2 separate regions of the Homo sapiens genome follow, and region 1 is linked to region 2. The links are contacts of gene promoters, found by promoter capture Hi-C in human tissues and cell types (Jung and others, 2019). All regions are on one chromosome and are shown on one strand. Each heading gives the region's core, a stretch centred on a gene start or on the middle of the fragment in contact. The rest is flanking DNA. Distances are from core to core; before and after follow the strand shown. Region 1 holds the start of SCAPER (S-phase cyclin A associated protein in the ER). Region 2 holds the start of UBE2Q2 (ubiquitin conjugating enzyme E2 Q2).

Region 1 (3,494 bases), core at 267-2,766, 1.1 Mb before region 2:
AGGTTGAAGTGGAGTCTGGTAGGTTCGGCGGGAGATTTCAAGATGGGAGAGACTTCAGGTTGTTTACATGCTTATGAGTATGAAAGGAAGTGGGGATAATTAAGAAATGAGGCCCTGACCGCCTTTTATAGAATTGTAGTATGCTCCCTACTCTATCCCCCTTATCCTACTCATTTTGTTAACTGTAGTGCTTATCATGTTATATAATTTACTTATTTATTGTGTTTACTATTTCTTGTGTTAAAAGCAAAATATTAGCCAAATTAAACAGAGTTTGAGCAAAGAATTATTCCCGAATCAGGCAGCCTCCTGAGCCAGAGTAGGTTCATACAGACTCCCGCAGAGCCACATGGTGGAAAAAGGTTTATAGACAGAGAAAGAAAAGTGAGGTAGGGAAACAGCCAGAATGGTTATAGCTAGACGTTTACCTTATTTGAACACGGTTTGAACAGTTGGCCGTCTTTGGCCAAAACTTGGTGATTGGCGCAAGAGTAGGTTGCAGTGTATTTACACCTCCATTTAGGTTATAGTTTACTATTTACGGAGAAACCTTCAGGCTGAACTTAAAATATGTAAGGACACAGCTTTTGGCTAAACTTGATGTAACACTTGCCTGGTTTCACCCTGCTCCAAGAAGCCGGAGGTTTTTTAGAGATTTCTGTTTATTTTGCTCACGTATTAACTCCAAGCATCTAGAATACCATCTGATATATAGTATGTGGTCAATAAACATTTGCTGAATAAATGAAAAAGCGAGTTTTCTAAGAAGGCAAGAGAGAAGGGGAGCCAGAACATAGCCATATGGTTCCTGCCCCCACAACGCTTGTGAGTCCAGGACTTCCCGCCTACTGCGGGTGGGGAGGGAGAGGGAAGGGTAAAGAGCTGTTTCCCAGCTGGATGAAAAGGGACGGTGAATATTCGTTTGATAATTACAGTCTGCATTGAATCTTTTTTCTATTTTGTTCAGACTGATTTAAACGTTAAAGTATTTAATTCATCATATGTTTGTCTTTGAAGTAGATGAAACGTATTTGTTAGGTCTCTGTACTTCGACCTTCCAAGCCTGGCACACAGAAGGGCCCTGATAAAGCTTCTCGGAGGCCTAGTTGTGTTCAGCGCAGCCCAGCGTGCTCCTGTCAAGTGCTTTCGCCAGCACAGATTTCTGTGAGGCGCGTCTCTAAGTCCTTAATCTGTGGATTGACTGTGGTGATAAGGCAGGAGGAGGGAAGAGATTGAGTACGAGAAAGACCTGTGTGGCCAAAAGCGGCGGTGTAAGCTTAACCTAGGAAAAGAAACAGCTTCGGAAACGCCGCGCCGGGACATCGAACCAAATCAACCCTCACACCTCCCGCCTGGGCGCCCCAACGGCGCGAACGGGCGTGCGCCTGCGCGCGGACAACACAGATCTTGCAGCCGGGAGCGGCGCGGCAGCGGCTGAGATCACGTGGTGCGCCGGGAAGCCACCCCGCCTCTCCGAGGCCTCCCTGCCCCGCCCCGTCACGCCCCTTTCCCGGCGGGACGCTTTGAGCCGCCCCGAACTAAGCAGGGCGGTCGGGGGTGAGTGTCCGCGAGGGGCGTGCGTAGCGCAGACCCGGGCGGGTCCGGGTTGGGGCGCGGGCCGTCTGAATGCCTTGCGGGGACCAGGGGACAAAATGGCGGCGGGGTACGCCCTTTCACCCCCTCCCCTCACCTGGGAGTGCGAGTTGAGCGGGGCAGGGATCGTTGCTGGGGGAGGGGAGCCGCGGTCGCCTGGGGAGGGCTCGGAGGTCGGCCTCGGAGGCCTCGGGACGGGGGCTGGGGTGAGCCGCGTCCGGGCCCTGCCCTGCGGGCTCATCTGGGGTGTGAGGGACGTGAGACCCCGCACACTACGCGGTCTGAGGGGTGAGTGGGGGGCTGCCGCGTCACCTCACTTGGGGGCAGCCCCGGCCGCGGGTGACGAGGCTTCTGGAATGTCTAAATGCGAGGGGCCCCTGGAGGAGCCTCCCTTCGTTTGACAGGTGATCGTCTTCGTCATCTGTCATTCCCAGCGGGGTTTACCATGCTTTCCCTGTACTCTGATCTTAGCTCTGCCCAGGAAACGGGGCAGGAATGGCCTCTCCGTCTTCCAGATGCGTGCGCTGAGGCCTGGAGGGGCGAAGAGCCTCTCGCACCTGGGAGTAGTGGGACCCAGCCTCCTGCCTCTGTTGCTGCTCTTTTCCAAAACAGCACTTCCTTGGCGCCTTTCCTCTACACCGTTTTCCAGGCGCGTTCGTGGGAACGGCACCAGGGAGGAACGGGATTGTTAGAAAGCAGGCACAAAACTGGTCCTGTAAGCAACACCTGCTGCTGTTAAGGGGGCCCCAGCTGAGATGAGGCCGCCTGTTTGTGAGCAGCTTCCTGTTGCTGGTGGACTGCATCTCTTATTCTAGTTGTGACAAGTTATTTTCCATGAAAATAGCTATTCATTAATAGTCATTTTACCGAACAGATACTAATTCCTTATATGAATTATAGTTTGTCTTAGTTTATGGATTAATTTCATCATTAACTTTTCATCTTCATAAATAATCTGGTAGAAGGATGGATGGGCTAGGAGTAATACTTATTTTATGAATGGAGAAACGGGGGCTCAAAAGGTTATTACTTGCCTTAGATCACCAGCTGGTGAGTGGTAAATCTGGGGTTAAGTTTTCTGACCTAAGGTTGGTAGTCTGACCACTGTCCCACTCTGGCCTATACTGGTGCTCTTTCCCTTCTGTTATTTCTGTTAACTATGACTTTTCCTCAAAGTTTGTTGGTTGCAGATGATTTATGCCACTTGAAGAATGATATCCACTAAAGAATTAATATTTTTAATCAATCAAAGAGTCAAGTTTTAATGTGATTTGGAAGGTTGTCTGTGGGAGAAGTAATCTGATGGCTTTGAAGGCAGACTGTTTTGAGTTTGAATCTCAGCCCCAACCCTTGTTTTTGGCAAATTAATTTTTCTGAGCCTTTCTTATCTGTAAAGTAGGAATAATATCCACCTCATAATTTTGTTGATAGTAATAAATTAGGTGTCTGTAAAGTATTGAGAACTGTTCCTAGCCCATGGTAAGCCCTCAACAAATGCTCTTTTCCTTCTTTCTCCACACTCCCTTGAGCTGCATTAAAAATATACTCTATGTGTCTTTGGTCCATTTGGGTCTGGTATAGCAAAATACCTCAGACTGAGTGGCTTATAAACAACAGAAATTCATTTCTTGCAGTTTTGGAGGCTGGGAAGTCCTAGATCAAGATGTCTGATGATTCAGTGTTTGGTGATAGCCTGCTTTCTGGTTAATAGATGGCACCCTCTAGCTGTCTCCTTACATGGTGCAAGGGTGAAGGGGTCTCTCTCTGGCCTCTTATAAGGGAATTTATCCCATTCATTAAGGTTCTGCTTTCATAATACAGTCATCTCCCAAAGGCCCCACCTCCTGATATGACCTTGGAAACTAGGATTTCCACAAGAATTTTGAAGAACACAAACATGC
Region 2 (3,682 bases), core at 1,183-3,682:
ATTTCTGTTGCCACTGCCTAATCCAGGTCATCACTCCTTATTTTTATCTGCAGCAGACTCTTACCAGCCTTCAATATGGTTCTCGATGGGGCACCAGTGGCACTTTAGGTGGGATAATTCTTTGCTGTGGCAGACTGCCTGAACGTTGCAAAACATTTGGTATCCCTGTACTCCTAGCACTAAATGCCGGCACAGCAATAAGACCACCCCACCCCCACTGGGATAACCACATTTCCTAATGCCACCCACTGTAGAGAACCATTTCTAATCCTGGATGAAAGATACATTCTCCCAACTTACCTGAGTAAACTTAGTAGCTCCCCACAGCCTACAAATTCAGTCTCCTATCATTCAAACCAGCCCTACCTTTTCGTGGCCATGCCCCAACTTCTACCAGAGTAATCACCCTCGAAGCCATTCAGGCCCGTCTCCTTAAAACACCTGCTTCATGACAACTACTACACTTTCTGTTTTCCACTCTTGGAAAATCCTCCCCTTCTCCAGCCTGTATCGTGGGCTTCTCAAGTCTTAGCATAAATTTTCTACTTCTAAGGAAACCACACTTTCTCAAATCTCCGTGTCTTCTTTGGGTGGAGTTTCCTCAGTCTAAAATGCCCTTCCGCCAGCCTTCCAAAATTGTAGTCACCTGTGGAAGCTCATCTCTAACTGTCTCAGCCTCTCATCAAAGCCTTCCCTGAAGCGCACCTCCCCCAAGTCAAAATTAGTTGCTTTGGCTTTCCTGATGATACCACAGGAGCTGTCACCTTATTGAACTCTTCCCCCAAGAAGACTGAGTTCTGAGAGCGAGGACGACTTCACTCAATTCTGCAACACTAGTGCCCAGAACACTCAGACGTATTCATTCAATAAATGAATTATCTCCTCAGTACAGCACTTGTCTTTTTTTTTTTGAAATTAACACACCTTCTGCCCAGATAGTCTGGTAACCATTTTAAGGTCAATTATAACATCAAGGTTTTTGCAAACGCCAGCCACCCTGCAGGCACTTGAGTACCCACTGACTCAACCAAAGGGAGTTAAAAACAAGACTTGGTTTTAGCCATGTTTGAAAAGGAGCCCGAAGCCACCACCTTGACGCCTATTATAACCAAGAGAATATTCTGCAGTTTGGACCAATATCCTACATCAATTTCACGACGAATAGCTTCACGATACACTTTTATGGAGAAACTTAATACTTCAATTCCTTTACCAAGCCTTGGGTTTCTAATGAGATTTCCGCTTAATGAGTGAGTTTTTAAAAGTGTCTTTTCGGCTTTGTGACATACGTGATCTTTCCGGGGAGCAGCCCTGGCGCGTATCTCCTTTCACCTATCCATTTTCGAGGCTTACACACAAGGGAGGGGCCACACGAATACACACTCAACACCACCTGCCGCAACGACGGTACTATGCTCCTTTCCAGAACACAGCAGCGCGCAGCCAGGCCCGGGGGAGAGGGGTCGCTCAAACAGCACCAGAGTCTGCATTCCAACTTTTCCTCCGTCAACGAGTCCATTCTCATTGTCAGTTTCTCCTTAAACGCAAACTTAAAAACAATTGGCTGAACAAGCGGGAAGAAGGAAAATCCGACTGAAAAATGAGGCGTTAAAACTTAAGGGCCGTTCCCCTTGCCGGCCTGGGCTCAAACAACAGCCGGAGCTGCGCCGCCCCGCCCCGCCCCGCCCCGGTCCCGGGAGCAGGCCGGCTGAGGGCGGCCATGGACCCCACAAGGGCTTGGGCCGCCGCGGACTCCCCCCTCGGGGCTAGGAGACGGGGACCGAGATGGGCCAGAAGCCCCCAAGCCAGCCCCTGGCGAGAAGCCGGAAAGACGCGCCCTCCGCCTCCTCCCACCCAAGCCTCGCGCAGTCCCAGCCCGGCCTGGGATGGGCAAGTCGCGGGGGAAAGGGGCGGGCCTGCCCCGCCCGGGGAGCCGGAGCCTCTCCGGGGCAGGCTCCCCTTTGTCCCGGGACTCGAAGCGCCCCCTCTCCGTCCTCGCCCTGCCCCGCGGGGCCGCGGCCGGGCGCCTCACCGTGATGTTGCAGTGGAGCGTGAGTGGCGGCGGCAGCGAGTGCGGGCTGCCCTGCTGCGGCACCAGGAACTGGCAGTGCAGCTCGTCCAGCTTCCAACTGACGATGCGGAATCGCTCGTGGTTCTTGTCGAAGATGGACGCCAGGAACTTCAGCTCGGCCTTGAGCCCTGACACGGACATCTTCCCCTCATCTCCGGCGGGAGGGGCGCGGAAGGGGAGCCGGGCGCGGAAGGGGAGCCGGGCCCGGAGCCGCCGTCACGGCCGCGACCGCCCCGCGGGGCCGGCCTGGGCCGCGCTCTCGCGGCTCCGCCTCGTCGAGCGCTGCTGGAAAATGGCGAGGGGCGCGGAAGCCTCGGCGTGTGGCGGCCTGGGTGGCGCTTCCTTTGTAACCGACTCCAGCGGCAGGAGGCGGCGGCCCCGCGGCTTAAAAGGGCAACAGCGACGCCGCCCCCGCTACCGCCTGGGAAAGGGCTGCCCCCACCCCGCCCCCGTCCCCCTCACCCTGGCGCGCCCTGCGCGCTCCGGTTTCAGCGCGTGCACGAGGCCAGAGCGCGCGCGCCCGGCCGCCCCCTCCTCGCCTTGACCCAGCTCCCTTGTTCCCGACCCATCTGCTCCGTTCTTCGCACCCGCGGACTGGAGGCTCGGGGCCAGCTGGCGCCCGGGCCCCAGAAGTCGGGGAGGAGCCGGAGACCCCCGCGCGCCCCCGCCCCCGGCCTGGAGCCGGACACGTGCGTGGCGGATCGCGCCGGCCACGTCGGCGCCGCTGCAGACTAGCGCCAGCCCCTGGGGGCGGCTCCTCAGCTTGGCGCTCGGCGCGGCACCCGCTAACCTCACTGGGGGGACCTCGTGGGAGACGCGGGTGCGGCTCACCCAGCGTTACCTCCGCTACTTTCACCCTAGTCCGAGCCACCGCTTCGCTAGCCTGGGTTCCTGTGAGGACCTTCTCACCAGCCTGGGTTCCTGTGAGGACCTTCTCACCGGACTCGCTGCTCCCGCCTTTGCTCTCAAACCATCCATTTACCCAAGACGATGGTTTAGCCCCTGGAGGCTGTTGCCTGGAGGTGTCCCATGATTTCATCCCTTCCCTTAGCTACCACCTGTGTTCACTCTGCCGTATATAGTCTCTCTCTCCCCCCTTTCCTTATTTTGCCTTGTTTCCCAAGCTTAAGATAACCCTCCCCACCCACACCCCCATGGAGCTAGGGCTGCCCACTATTTTCACTAAACTCATAGCTCAAATATCATCTCCGGCACCCCCCACCACAACCCATTTCAAATAGTCACCCTGTGTCACATCGTCCTGTGCTAAGTTTTTGTTGGGCACCTGTCACTATCTGATCTTTAACCCATTTATTCCTTGTCTCTGCCCCGTGTTAATGTGTTCAGAGCTGTATCCCCAGGACCTAGAACAAGACCTGTTATATAGTAGAAACCCGATATGATTGAATTGAATGCTCGCTCTTATCTGGAATCCCCACCACTAGCACAATTCCTGGCACATTGTAGGTGCTCAAAAAATGAATAAAGGTCTGGATAGCAGTCCAAAGGAATACATCCCAATTTGGCAGACAATAGTGTGTGCAATCGTAAGTGCAAGAGGCAGGACCAGCTGCATATGCGTCCAACCTATGTAGTTGCACAGTGCTCCCA

Evidence for each region. Contacts are between HindIII fragments. The study calls those that stand out against the background at their distance.
Region 1: a contact is called between the fragment with the promoter of SCAPER here and the fragment with the promoter of UBE2Q2 in region 2, in 2 of the 25 tissues and cell types used here (IMR-90 fibroblasts and hippocampus).

What each region holds. Positions count from the first base shown.
Region 1 is chr15:76,903,362-76,906,855 of GRCh38, reverse strand. SCAPER (S-phase cyclin A associated protein in the ER) reads left to right here and starts at 1,516. Exons shown (of 32, transcript NM_020843.4): 1 at 1,516-1,557. RefSeq lists an enhancer at 1,170-1,670 and silencers at 1,411-1,720, 1,731-1,840, 1,861-1,940. The HindIII fragment of the contact is 13,869 bases long and covers 1-3,494 here.
Region 2 is chr15:75,842,197-75,845,878 of GRCh38, reverse strand. UBE2Q2 (ubiquitin conjugating enzyme E2 Q2) reads right to left here and starts at 2,432. Exons shown (of 13, transcript NM_173469.4): 1 at 2,033-2,432. The coding sequence starts at 2,212. RefSeq lists silencers at 1,622-2,021, 2,272-2,351, 2,492-2,631, 2,672-2,851 and an enhancer at 1,453-2,350. The HindIII fragment of the contact is 12,421 bases long and covers 1-3,682 here.